Regions from separate parts of the Homo sapiens genome. Here all the other regions are linked to region 5. The links are contacts of gene promoters, found by promoter capture Hi-C in blood cells and fetal thymus (Javierre and others, 2016). All regions are on one chromosome and are shown on one strand. Each heading gives the region's core, a stretch centred on a gene start or on the middle of the fragment in contact. The rest is flanking DNA. Distances are from core to core; before and after follow the strand shown. Region 1 overlaps SYNPR (synaptoporin). Region 2 overlaps SYNPR (synaptoporin). Region 3 overlaps SYNPR (synaptoporin). Region 4 overlaps SYNPR (synaptoporin). Region 5 holds the start of C3orf49 (chromosome 3 open reading frame 49).

The links. Contacts are between HindIII fragments. The CHiCAGO score rates a contact against its expected background, and 5 or more counts as called.
Region 1: a fragment that was not itself captured here is called in contact with the fragment with the promoter of C3orf49 in region 5 in 1 of 17 cell types (M1 macrophages); the score reaches 5.1 in M1 macrophages.
Region 2: a contact is called between a fragment that was not itself captured here and the fragment with the promoter of C3orf49 in region 5, in 7 of 17 cell types (M0 macrophages, M1 macrophages, M2 macrophages and 4 more). The highest score is 14.8, in M0 macrophages.
Region 3: a contact is called between a fragment that was not itself captured here and the fragment with the promoter of C3orf49 in region 5, in 4 of 17 cell types (monocytes, M0 macrophages, M1 macrophages and 1 more). The highest score is 10.3, in monocytes.
Region 4: a contact is called between a fragment that was not itself captured here and the fragment with the promoter of C3orf49 in region 5, in 1 of 17 cell types (M2 macrophages). The highest score is 5.1, in M2 macrophages.

The regions. Positions count from the first base shown.
Region 1 is chr3:63,401,658-63,404,466 of GRCh38, reverse strand. The region is part of intron 2 of SYNPR (synaptoporin); the gene reads right to left. Among named protein-coding and RNA genes, the nearest start is that of SYNPR, 120 kb to the right of the region's middle. The HindIII fragment of the contact is 2,942 bases long and covers 1-2,809 here.
Region 2 is chr3:63,370,791-63,373,640 of GRCh38, reverse strand. All of the region lies in intron 2 of SYNPR (synaptoporin), which reads right to left. Among named protein-coding and RNA genes, the nearest start is that of SYNPR, 94 kb to the right of the region's middle. The HindIII fragment of the contact is 3,770 bases long and covers 1-2,850 here.
Region 3 is chr3:63,326,620-63,329,490 of GRCh38, reverse strand. All of the region lies in intron 2 of SYNPR (synaptoporin), which reads right to left. Among named protein-coding and RNA genes, the nearest start is that of SYNPR, 50 kb to the right of the region's middle. The HindIII fragment of the contact is 4,441 bases long and covers 1-2,871 here.
Region 4 is chr3:63,308,435-63,311,134 of GRCh38, reverse strand. All of the region lies in intron 2 of SYNPR (synaptoporin), which reads right to left. Among named protein-coding and RNA genes, the nearest start is that of SYNPR, 31 kb to the right of the region's middle. The HindIII fragment of the contact is 631 bases long and covers 1,042-1,672 here.
Region 5 is chr3:63,817,920-63,820,619 of GRCh38, reverse strand. C3orf49 (chromosome 3 open reading frame 49) reads right to left here and starts at 1,321. Exons shown (of 7, transcript NM_001355236.2): 1 at 1,024-1,321. The coding sequence starts at 1,148. RefSeq lists a silencer at 1,855-1,974. The HindIII fragment of the contact is 1,193 bases long and covers 870-2,062 here.

The DNA of each region.
Region 1 (2,809 bases), core at 205-2,704, 420 kb after region 5:
TGATTTTCTTTTAAATAAGGGATCTTGTCTGAAAAACATTTTTTATGATTTTCCTTCATATATACTACATAATTCATGTGAGACTATTATCATTGTTGTAGTTCTTTGTTAAGAAATCTATTTCACTATAATTCTATTCACTGTAATTTCCTTAGTAACAGGCTGCTCTCTTCTTTTAAAAACTGTTAAAACATCATTCACATCACATTCTAGATGTGGATCCAGCTATTCCCAATAGCTATTCAAAAAACGTAATCACCATAATTATTGTTGACATCTAATTAACATTCAGCTTCCTTTCTACAGCATCTACAGCTGGACAAACCATCTATTCCAGGATAAAAACGAATGCTCTGTTGCCTTCTCTTAAAAACATAAAACAAATCAGGATCCTAACACCTGGGCTCAGTGTTTTTGTTCTCTAGTAAATGGTGGTTGGAGGTAGGGCAGCTAACATGAACACCTTTCTAAATATTATCAACTGATAAATTGAACCCAGTCATATGAAATTAAATCCACCCTACATGTGATAGGAATGCTGATGTTTACATCCAAGGTAGGTGTTGTGGTCGATCAAGGATGGCTCCCAGAGCCTCTCAGTGCACAGTTTTTTGATGAGGCTTCCCTTGATCCAGCTCCTTTCTCTCTGGCTTACTTCATCATTTGCTACCCTCTTCCTTGTTCTCTCTTAGGTTACATCCTGGTCTCCTTCCAGCTCCCCCATCATGTTCTCTCTCACCTCTGTGGCTTTGACTATGCTACACCTCTGTCTTCTTTCACTATTGTGATGGTTGAGGGGTGTAGGCCCTGAGGCTAGAACCTCCAATTTCGTGTTTCAGCTCTCCATACTGCAAGTATGACCTAGAGCACATTAGCTTAGCTTCTGGGTTCCTGTGCTGTCTCATCTGTTAAATGAGGATGGTATCCAATAAATGTACCCACTTTGTGGGGTTATTGTGAGGATTAAATATGCCTCTGTCTCATCCTCTCTCTCTATGTGTGTGTGTGTGTGTGTGTGTGTGTGTATGTGTATACATACGTATGAGAATGTGTGTGTGTGTGTATATATATGTATGTACATATATATATATTTATATAAAAGCAGTAACACAGTAATGCAGTAACACAGCACTCAACCAAGGCTTCGTGGACTCTATTATTTAATGTTCTTTTCAAATCCATTTATGCAATATTTAGGCAATTCATTTAGGCAAACTCATAGTCCAGACTAGGAACTGATAACACTTTTACTTCTACCTCTTTCAATCAGCCAGAGCATGTTATATGGTTGAATACAAAGACAAGATGCAAGAAAATACGCTTTAGTGGGAGGAACTACAGAATTAATGGCAGAATGTGGATATATAATTATGTTACTCGGGAAGAAGTAAACTATTGACACAATAATATATATAAACATTCTCTCTGTTAATGTTTACTGTATGGTCTCTTCTCCTGTCCAGAGCCCCTTGGTCTCATATTTGAGATCGTTATCTCTAGAAAGGCTTCCTTAGTGTTCCAGGACATTTTCTCTAGAGAATCTTCATGTTTCAGAAAAGTTTAGTTCTCCATCCTGTGTGCCCCCACAGCACCTGGTACTTCCACACTTGCATCACCATCACACTTGCAATGACTATGTCAAGTGCGCTATGCTTTATTTATTTGTGCAACAAATATTCCTCCAGCTGCCACTCTGTACCAGGAACTGGGGATATAGCAGTAAACGAAAAGAGTTCCAGGCAGAGGGAACAGCTAAAGCAAAGGTTTGCAAGATGGGCCTGGATTAGGCCTCTGGATTCACCTCTTTTCCTCTCCTTCAGTGAATGGCCACAAAGCACACTCCCACTGCTTCCTTCATCTTGGAGTCATCCTAGCTATGCCCACTGTCACAAATAGGCTGGCCTTTTTTCCTCTTAAGTTTTTGTCATACAGAGGGGTCAATCCCGATGAAATAGCAAAAGGACAGTGTTTCCAGAATCCTTTATGGTTCTTGTCATCACAGACCCTGGATTATAAAATACTAACTTGCTTTTGGGATAAGAACTAGAATTCATATTGAATTTCTATCCTCTGATTTTTATCATTTAGAGCAGTGGTTCTCAACTGGGGGAGATTCTGCCTCTCCCCGTTCTACCCTTAGCCCCAGGCCCCAGGGACATCTGACAAAGCCTGGAGACATTTCTGATGGTCACCACTTTGCAGGGAGCGCTCCTCATGTTTAGAGGCCCGGGATGCTGCTAAACATCCCAGAGTGCACAGAACAGCCCCATAATGAAGAATTATCCAGCCCAAAATGTCAATAATGGCTGATCTAGAAAGTGTCTTCTTCAAACCTCTCCTTCCTCCTTCTGGCTGCAGGGCCTCCTTCCTCTGCAACATTGCTCTTCATTTATGAGCATGTAGGCTTGAGTATATGAAATTAAGGATGAACAGCAGGGGCCTATTTGTCTTGAGAGAGAAATGCATCTCTCTTAGGATCAGCAAACTGGAGAAGACTTTGTTCTCTAGGTGTCTCTCTGGCAGAAGACATTGCTTTCTTTATCTCCTACTGGCCTCATGTTTCTCAACTTTCAGAGATACTGAGCCCAGGGATGACAAATTGGGTTCATCCTGCACTACCACTTCATTAGATTGGTAGCAGCTGTTTGGAGCACAATTTTGATTCCCACAAGGATTCCCAAGGCCACATTCATGCTCTGCAAAAAAGTACAATCAACTAGTGATGTCCATCAAGAATACAGGCACAGTACCAGGTATATGCCATCTCTTCATGAGAGAATAGCTCTGTCTTTTTTTTCTGTCATTAACC
Region 2 (2,850 bases), core at 295-2,794, 450 kb after region 5:
GCCTGCTTTCTTCCCATCACTTTCAACGTTACCAATGAGTCATAAATTTGATCTTTTTACGTAATCCCATCATTCTCAGAGGTTCTGTTCATTTTTTAAAATTATTTTTTCTTTATTTTTCTCTGACTGAGTTAGTCTGGAGAGCAAGTCTTCAAGCTCTGAGATTGTTTCCTCAGCTTGGTGTATTTTGCTGTTAATACTTGTGATTGCATTATGAAATTTTTGTGGTGTGTTTTTCAGCTGTATCAGATCAGTTTGGTTCTTTCTTATGATGGCTGTTTTGTCTATCAGCTTTTATATCATTTTATTGTAATCCTTAGATTCCTTGAATTAAGTTTTAACTTTCTTCTGAATATCAATAATCTTTATTCCTATCCATATTCTGCATTCTATTTCTGTCATTTCAGCCATTTCAGCCTGGCTAAGTACCCTTGCTGGGGAACTAGTGTGGTCTTTTGGGATTAGAAGACACTCTGGCTTTTTGAGCTGCCAGAGTTATTGCACTGATTCTTTCTCATCTATGGTGGGATGATTTCCTTTAACTATGGTGTAATTTGAGTAGCCAGTAGACTTCTTTTCTGGATGTTTTTAGAGGGCTGGGGGTTTTTGCAGGGGGTTTGTAGCTGAGTTCTCACCCTTGGTTTCACAAGGGAGTACATTATCAAAGGATTTTTGGTGTTGAAGTTTGGGCTGTGATCCAGTAGATAAGCTAAATGGCCAGTTGGTAGGCTCTTGTTCAGCCACATGGCTCCTCTATATTTCCTCATGAATGCAGCTGTACTCTTTCTCAGTGCTCTGAGAGTGTGGGCTCCTCTCCCACTCAAGTGCTAGCTGCAGATCTTTACTTGACTCTTCTGGGCTGCACTTTGCAGCCCTGGGGCGAGCTCAGGCTTTATGTTTTCACCCCAGCTTGGAGGCAGCAGGGGAAGGGATCTTGGCAGTGGTTGTGGCAGAGGACTTTTCACCTATCTCATGGGGCTCTATCCCAGAGAGATTCAGAGCTGCTATTAATCAGTGTGATCAGCCTGGGGTGGAACTGCTGTGCTGTGGGCCCAACCCAGGGGCAGCTGTGCCTTGTGACCAGTGAGGGTTGTGGGGGAAAGGGGGATGGGGGAAACAGACTGGCCTCTCTCCTTAGGACAACTGCAGCTTGCTGGAGTCATGGTTAAAGCACCCAGTGTCTTTGCTACTTCCCCAATCCAGGGGCAGCAAAGGCAGTATCGCTGCAGTGGCAGTGGCAGAGGGGCTTTCAGTTGCCTCTGGGAGCTCCCTCTCAGAGATACACAGAGCCATTGCTACTGGAAATGTTCAGCCAGGGATGGGGTGGCTGTGCTGCTGGCTCAAGCTGGGGCCTTCACTTGGTGAGAAGCAGGGGGTGGAAGGCTCACAGGGAGGAGTGACTGGACTCTTGTCTATGGTGACTGTGTCATGCTGGACATAGTCTTTGTTTTTATGTGTTTTTGTTTTTTCTCAGACTGAGGGCAGCAGTGGCAGAACCACTGTCGTGGCAGTGGCAGAGGGGCTGTTGGTCACTCTAAGATCCCTTTTCCAGGGAAACATAGAGCCTCTACCTGTGGATATACTCAGCCATGCATGGGATGGCTGTTCTGTGGTCCCAAGCCGGGGGCTCAGTCTGGTGAAGAGTGGGGATTGAGGGCTTGCAGGGAAGAGAGACTGGGCTCCTCTCTGCATGGTGGCTGTTGTGTGTGGGAAATGCCAGCATAGCAACCAGGTCCTTTGTTCCTTCCCCATCCTGAGGGTGGTTAGGGTGGTACTACTGCAGTTCCAGTGGCAGACGGGCTGTGGGTTGTCTCTGTGATTTCCTCCTCAGTGAAATGTAGAACCGCCTCCGACTAAAGTGTTGAGGTGGGGCCAGAGTGGTTGTGCTAGAGTCCGAGGTCCAGGGTCCCACTCAGTGAGGAGAAGTTGGAACGAGGACTCAGGTGGAAAAGAGTCTGGCCACTTCTCTGTGGGGCAGCTGTGCTGCACTGGGGAGCTGTATCAGTCTCAAATCACCACGCACCTTCTAGAACCTGAGGGCAGCAGCAATTAGGGCTGCAGGGCAGCAAAAATAGTGGCTTGCATCTCCCTCTGGGAGCTCCGTCCCAGGGAAGTCAGAGCTGCTACTGGTCTGAAAGCCCAGGCAGTAGGTGGCTGGAGTCCCAGGCCAGTGGGCCTTATCCTGCAAGGTGAAACCTGAAGTTCATCACTGCTCAGCCTCATGAAATTTGCCTCTTTCCCGGAGACGTGCAAGGGAGCCTGACCTCCCCCACTGCCAGAGCTGCAGTGGCTAATGCCAGGATGCCTGGGGATCCAAGGCTCCTAGGACTCCATGTGTGCATGAGTGACTTCTCTTACCAGACTCCACAGAGCTCTCGGTGTCAGTCTGGAGGCCCCTGTGGGGTGGGCTCACAGGGGGATCTCCTGAGCCCAGGGTTGCAAAAGTCCATGGTAGAAGTGTGGGTTCCTGGGGACTGTCACTCACTCATCATTTTTCCGAGGTATGGGGGCCTCCTCTGGCTCTATGCCATCCCAGGTGGGTGGTTGTCTTGTCTCATTCCTCTCTTTCATTCGTGGGTTGTTTCCTTGATGAATCGCAATGTGTCCACCTGAATGTTCCAGTTAAAGGTCTAGGGTTTACTCACCACTGTTTCTTCTGTCCGTGAGAGCAGTGCACGCTAGCTCCTTCTAGTCAGCCATCTTGGCTCTCCCCCATATTTAAATTCTAATTCAACAATAGGGATTAGAGGATATTTTCTGGGTTTATGAATCCACTGTGTTTATATAGGGGTCTTTCTCTAACTCAGTACTCTAAATTTTTACAAGGTTCTCACCTATGAATTCAAAGTT
Region 3 (2,871 bases), core at 152-2,651, 490 kb after region 5:
CATTTTCTCCAATTTTAATTGCTGTGTTGTGATGTCTTGGGTGAGGGTTTGCATTGCAGGTTGGTTAAAGGACTAGATTTAGATTCCGGGTTCAAATCCTGGCTCAACCACTAAACAGCTGTGCCACTTTGGGGTAGTTACCTCTCTGTGTCTCAGTTTTCCCACCCGTAAAATAGGGCTAAGAAGAGTAGCTACCCCATTAAATTGCTGTGATAATTAAACTATAATGTAGGTTAAGTGACCAGCTTTGTGACTGATACATAATAAACTCTCATAATAAAATAATGTATTAAACATAAATATTATTTTTAATATTTAAACAATGCCATGTTGTCACTTGAGAGGCAGTTTGCTGAATAGTCAAATTCTTTCATTTGTTTACGTGGAGAGAAAGTGTGTTTTTCTTGGCTCGTTGATAATAGTTATTACTTTTATACCACCTAAGAACTAGGAGACTGCTCCTATTTTTAGAACTGTGATAGCTGAGATAACTCTCAGGCTAGATTTGACTTATAGATTGTATTCAAATAATTCAAATAAACATATTGTGCGATGACTAGTGTACAGCTTTTTCAATAACTGCTGGAGATGTGGCGGTCAATTTGAGAAAACAGGTCCTGACCTCTCATGGACATTATAATCAATAAAAGGTAGAAGAAAATAAAGCCACCACTGTAATACTCGTGTTTAAACAGAAGCCACCAATAAATGTGGCAAGTTTATTTAGCCATAGTAGATTCAAGTACCAGCTCTGGGGAATTCAGAGCTGTGGCCCCCAGGTTCCTCTGAGGTCACATCAACTCTCCAATTGGATGTTTATTTTTCAGGTCCACAGTGTCCAGGCATCCACAGCTCTCCTGCTAAGCCCCAGAGCACTGCATTCTTCCCAGGGCTGCTGGCTACTATTCTTAGTCACCAGCAATTTTGCTTTTATGTTCATTGCCTTGTGCATTTACAAAACACATGATTGTGAGTCAAAGCCAGGGAGACAGGCATGTTAGGGGAACTGGGGCCTGGAGCACTCAACCCAGTGATTAAACTCCTAGATCACACTGGTACATTATGAATTCCTTCTTTTAAATATAGACCAGTCTCATTTGATATGAAATGGACTGACTCAGGCTAGCAATGCTAAACAGGTCACCTAATTGTGGGGAAATGTGCAGCCTGAATACAAGATTCTGGACATTCCCAGAAAGGGAGATGAGGCTCTGAGCTTTTGCAACCTGAGGATAAAGGGAAACCTGAGAAGGCACTCTCATTTTGTGAATATCACAGTTTTTCTGAGAGTGTGTTGAATTTTTTTTAATGGCTTAGTACTGAGCATCTTGAATTATATAACTGGTCTTGTGGTAGATGTGAGATTTGTAGAATTTCTTAAAAGTCATGTTAAAACCTAATCATGGGGACACTAAAATGTATTTTAAATTCAGCATATGTGGCATTCCTCATTTAAATAATATTTTGCAATTTATGCCCAATTAATTTGCTAACAATATTTACTTTGTCCTGCTTTTTCCATCTGTGCCTCTCCTGATCCTTTTCACACATTGCCTTTTTTAAGGTGAATTTCTTGATATATTACATACATGCAGAAAAGTGTAAAACAGCTCAATGAATTTTCAGAGGGTGAACACACCTATTACTCAATCCCTAGATCAAGAAATAATATATTATTGGAACCCCAGAAGCCCCTTCCTTAACCTCTAACCACCAAAAGTTAGCTACTGTCCTAACTTCTAATACCACAATGTGTTTTTTAAAAATATTTTTGAACACAAATTGAATTATATATTGTACTGTCTTTTGTATCTAGTTTCTTTTGCTCAGTTTTTTTGGGTGAAATTCATTCATGTTGTGTAAACTCATAGTTTGTCCATTCTCATCACTGTAAGTCAAATGCATAAATATACCAAAATGTATTTGTTCATCATGCTACTGATAAGCATTTGTGGCTTTATAAATTCTGTTATGAACACACTTATTTGTGTCTTTTGGGAAACATACCTAAGAATGGAATTGTTTGGACATAATACATTTATAATACATATAGCTAGATATAAACACACATACACAATACATAAATAGGTATTACATGTACCACATATACATGATAACATATATGTACATTTCATTTCAACATATACATATACCCACTTTAGTAGGTACTGCTGAGGTTATCCAAAGTTATATCAATTTACACTCCTACCAACAGTGTAAAAAAGTTCTAGTTGTTCTATATCCTTGCTGTCACTTGGTATTGTCCTTTTCATTTGGGTTATTTTGGTGGGATCACATTTTCTTTTATAATGTATATATTTATCTCCATTCTACTTTACACTTCCTTCATTGCCAATAACTATTTCCCCTCCCAATTTGCACTAATGATTGCAACTTTTACATAGTTAGTAATTAATATATATCTAGTCACTAACAAAATGAAACAGGAAATCTAAAAGTAAAGTGTCAGTGGTTCATTTTTTTTTTTCTATGAGGAAAGTAGTCTTTTAATGGATTGAGAAAGTATTATTATTGGCTTTGGTAAAATTTAGGAACATGGAAATGAATCTGATGGCCATTGAAATTAAGAACATTTCCAAATTACACTTCTTAAAATTTGCCCAATGTAAACTTAATTAGAAAGAGTACAAGCACAACCCTTCAATTACTTCCATGAGTTACTAAGTCTGATTCTTACCAGGAACTTGGCTTTCTTTTGAAGATTTCAAAGTTACCAGCAATCACAACTCCCTTTCTTGGTGCTGCTATTTAACAGAGAGAGAAACTGATAAATAATGCAGAAGACACTGATTTCAGGCCATCACTATGAGAAGATAGAAGACCAAGGACCAGCATCTGGCTTCTGGGCTT
Region 4 (2,700 bases), core at 108-2,607, 510 kb after region 5:
AATAGATTATTAACCAAAACAACAACAACAAAAAAAAGCCACCACTTTCTCCTGGCATCTGTTCATTCACTAGTACACATTCAACTTGACATATCTGATTTTTTGAAAAATGTGGGAAGGATACCACATAAATGACATCTATGTGTTTTCTGAGTGGTTTTAAGTTAACAGGACACACTGAGAGTACAGGGAACAGCTCATTAATATCCCCTCTACCACATTGGGATAAGTGTTTTTAAGCCAAGCATCCAAAGCAAGATACTCTTAGGGTCTGAGCATGCACCAGGAGTCTCCTTTCTGATTTCTTTCTGGGAAGCCAGCCCTCCTGACTTTCAAGCCATGTGGTTCATATAGGGCTCCACACCTTGTTCTAGGGCTGGAATTCATATCCAGGTCTCAGCCAGCTAGTGCCCCCACAGTAACCTCAGGATTGGCTCTGTGTTGGACATGAGAGGCCATCAGAGCCACTGGGACAGCATGAATATTTTTCTGAGGCCTTGGAGCAAGGAAAGATATTCTTCCCACTGGCCTTGGATCTGAGAGGACATAGGCTGAGGCTGCCCTAGTCATCTTGACAACATCAGCAAGAATCTATATGAAATAGGAAGCTACACAGGTGAAAGCAGACCTGAAAGACTGAGAAAAAAATGATGAGGTTAAAAGTATGAGATTTCCAATTTTTAAAGATCAAAATTGCCAAATAATTTTAAATACATATGGTTCAACTCAGTCAATTTTAATGACTATGATTTGAACTTCCAACCTAAAGGCGGTTATATCCTTGGACTTCTCAATCATGTAAGCCAATAAATTCCCTCATATGTAGGGAGGTTTGCATCCTTCACTTTTTTAATTGCATAAAAACAATAAGAGTCTACTTTCCTCCTCAAAGCTGTCTTCTGAGAAGAAAACAAAACAAATAAGGAGACCAAAGGTGAGAGAGATGAGAATGACTTTGTCTCAACTATACCAATGGAAAAAAGAAGAGTATACGAGGCAGTTGGGAGGGATTCTGGGGTGGGGAGTTGGAGGCAGGAAGCTTGCAGGGCTTGGTAGGGGGTAGCTCTTCCCTAAACTGAGCTGGGTATGGGGTATCTGCTTGAGAAAATATTTACTCAGCCTGAGGGCTGAAGAGTGGGTACACAGAAGAGGGCTTTAAATACAGTCTGTTGTCATGCAAATACCGTCTCAGACACCCACAAAGCAGGCAGAAGATGGCCACTTTACTTATTTGTGTTATACACACAATGCATATGCATGTCTGGGAAACTAGAACCCCTGTAGTTTGCAGGATAGAACAAAAATGAGGATAAAGTGTGTAGCACAGAGAGAACTCTGGAGTAAGCAGTGTAGAGGGTGCTTCTTGAGTATTCAGCATAGGAGTGGTCAGCACATGCATGTGAGAAGGCTGCCCGTGTCTAGGAGAGGACCACCCAACAGATTAGATGGGGGAATATCTGATGCTCACACAGGGCTGGGGTCACCAGCCAGAATGGAAAACCTGTCACTCACAGGCATTTTGTAGAAGACCCAGAAGGGTCTTGCCTCAGAAGCAGGGAGTAATTAGCACTAGACTAAACACCTCTCTGATCCTACTTAACAAATATTAAAAGTAAGACCTGAACAAATGGAACAATTTCCAAATAATTTAACTAATTCTCAGAATAAAGCTTAATAATATTCATAGAAATTTTTTAACATCCAGAATCAAGCAAGGTAAAAATCAAAGTATCTGGCATCCAATCAAGGATGAGCAAACATGCAAACACACAGGAAAATACAACCCACAATGAGGAGAAGAATCAATTGAAATTGATCCAGAAGCAAAATAGATGTTAACATTAGCAGACAAGGACATGAAAACAGCTGTAAGTGTATTACAGATGTTCAAGAATGTGAGTAGAGACATTTGAAGATAAAAACAACCAACCAACCAAAAACCCAAATTGAACTTCTAGGGGTAAAAACTGTAATTTCTGAAGTTGAAAATAGATTTGGTAGAATTAATAACAGATTAGAAGTGTAGAAGAAAAGATTGGTGAGTTTGAAAACATAGCAAAGGAAACTATCCAAAATGAAACACAGATAGAATAAAGAATTTAAAAAATGAACAGCGCATCAGTGATCTGTGGGACCAATTCAAGAAGCCTAATTATGAGAAACTGAAGTCTATAGAAGGGGAGGGCAAAAAGGAAATTCGGAAAATAATGATCAAAACTTGATGAAAACTATAAAATTTATAATTTAATGAAAATTTATAATTCAATGAAAATTATAAAACTATAATTCTATGGATCAAGGAAGTCTAATGAATTTCCAGGCACAATAAACATGAAGAAAACCATACCAAAGTACATCATAGTTAAATTGTTCAAAGCATATGATGAAGAAGAAAATCTTAAATGCACCCAGGGAGAAAAGACACATTATGTACAGAGGAACAAAGATAAGAATTACAGAAAATTTCTTGTTAGAAGTAGTGCAAGTAACAAGACAGTGGAGCAACATCTTTAAAATACTTAAAGCAAAACCCCTTGCAATCTAGAACTTGATACCCAACAAAAATTTCTTTAGAAAACAAAGATGACATAGACTTTTTCAGACATAATAAGGCTGAAAACATATACCACCAACAGACATACACTACAAAAGATGTTATAGAAAGTCTCAAACAGAAGGCAAATTATTTCAGATGAAATG
Region 5 (2,700 bases), core at 72-2,571:
CAGAACAATGCAAATACAGTTTCAGGAGATTCAGGAATTTTGAAGACCACCCATGTTAAAAGCCCAGTTCTAAGTGGTCTCAGAATCTCTAGAAGGTGTTTCCCATTCCCATCCTCCCCACTCTCATCCCCAATCTATCTAGAACATAATTAACAAAGGTGATTTAGCTCCAGAGCCTAGGAACACACTGCTGCAATTTCTGATATGAGCAGAACCCTCCCCTTCTTAAGTTTTTAAATATTTTTGTGTTGGTACTGAATTTATTTGGTTGTATTGCTTCCCCCGGAGTGCCTACTTTTCATTGAAAGTGGAAATCTCTGCAGTATTTTATTTTGTCCATGGAAGTTCACAAGCTTGGTCTTTGATGCTTCCAGGACTCATTAAAACACCTCACTTCTACATGTCTGAACTATAGCCCATGGACCTGGTAAGAGAGAAGCCCAAAGAAATTGGAAAATAAATCACCACACTGACTTTCCAAATTAAAATATATTATATTTTGGATGTTTCATACCTGTCTATATGGTTTTGTCATTGGCAAAAAAATAGCAAGTCTAAGGCAGTTTTAACGTTACATTAAACAATGTGTCCATAGTGAAATGTGATTAGTACATATTTCAGCAGCCCAAATTGCTGGGATAGGAGAAAGAAAGCACTGATCGTGGACCTATTTCGAAGAATGCACTAATGACTTTTCAAAATAATAGTATTTTCACGGGATGTGAGATGTCCAAAATTCTGATGCTGAAATATCAACATAGGATCAGAACTTATTTTAGTCTCCTATGCCACATTGAAACTTAATTTCGAGTGGAAAGGAAAGGTTTTCCCTGTTACAATTAAGATGTTTCTGATCATAAAATGAAGCTTACATTGTCACACTAGATTTCTTGATCCAACGCAGTACCCTCCCCGCCAATCCATCCAGAGTCCTCATTCCTAAATGCAATGCTTAAAAGGACATGCCACTATGCCAAACCCAAAGACTCTCATTTGACAGAAAAGGAAATGAATCTCTGTTACCTTTCTATCCCCTTCCTTTTGAATGAGCCATTTTTCTTCTTGAGTTGCTGGAATCTTCGGCACTGTCCAACTTTTCTGTAGGCAATCTTAAAGGGTTCTGGTAGATACAGCTGAGGTTGGGCCATTGCTCTCAACTTCACCTGTAGTAGCCGTTTTGGATTGTTTTAGTTCTTGAACTTACAGACTTCAATACAAAATCATCCAGTGACTGAATGTACTGTCAAGGTGTGGGCTATTCGGAATAAAATATGTAGGAAATTTTTAGAGTCTTTCCCTTATTCCCTTCCAGGTGTTAGAGACATTATTTGTGGGACTGGCCCTGTTTACAACTTCACAGAGGTCACCAGTGATGTATTTGACAGAGCTGTGTGAAATTCCATGGACCTTTGTGGAACACTTCACAGATTCTTGAACAAGGCAAATACAGAAATGATGATCTGATTGCCTCAATGCTGGCATTTGGATAGAAAAAAAAAATCAAACAACAACAACAACAACAAAAAACACCCACACACTAATTGACCACCACATTCAGAAGTGCGTATTTGAACTCTGAAGTGGTAGGGACCTATAGGAATACCAACGATACGCTGATTAACACAAGTTGAGCTTCTGTTAGATCTCTCAGTTACAGCTGGTGAATGTTCTCTGTGTCCTGTGGGACACATATGACAAGGCCAGTTGTTGTTTGGACATCTCAAAATGTACCCCAAGGGTGGTTTTCATTACATCTTGGAATTTTGCAGTGGTCTCTCAAAGTACATTGCTAAATTGAGGACCTGATCCACCCCTCCCTTCCAACATTGCCCCATTTATTTCGTGGTGAAGAGCGAATTCTGCCTGTGATGGAACTTCTCACCACAAGGTGGCAGCAGACACTAGGATTTATTCCTGTTACCCTCTCGCGGTTTGAGTTGTTCAGTCAAATAACTAGATGCTTAACAAGAAAAACTCCTCTAGAAAGGTTCTGGGAGTTACAAGAATTACTCTGCTTTCTGTGTTTGCATTAATCAATAATCTGGAGCATACTTCTCAAGCTTTCAAGTGCACACAAACTTCCTGGAGGTCTTTTTAAGATGCAGATTTCGATACAGTACATCTGGGCTGGGATCCAAGAATTTGCACTCCTAACAAACCCGCAGGTGACGCTGATGATGCCAGACTGCACTTGGAGTAGTGAGGGTCTTGTATGTTTCAGTACTGGGGAAAAGAGCTTTAAAATGGTCTAGAATGAAGTGTATAATGTTAAGGGGCTAAGAGAGTGGATTTGGGAATTATGCATGAGTTCTCATTTCTAGCTTAGCTATGTGACCTTGGCCAATTCATTTTAACCCACCCATGCTTGTTTTCTCATCCCTAAAGTGGGACAACTCATAGTGCCCAAGCCATAGTTTTATGGCAAAATTCAAGTGAAATAGAAATTCCGCTTCAGCAGGGAATGAGACCCAGGAATCCATATTCTAGGAGAGTGGGTGCAGATGTTCCTCTGTCCCTTATTTGAGAAACGCTGAAGTAGAGCATATCTAATATGCCTTGGCCAAATGGACATATGCTCCTCCCTGGTCTGTTTTTCCTCATCTGTTGGCATCCTCAGAGCACAATAAATAATAGGTGCTTGAATAAATGAATACATGAATATTTTCTTTAGCAACAGGGCAATATTTTTCATGCAATTAT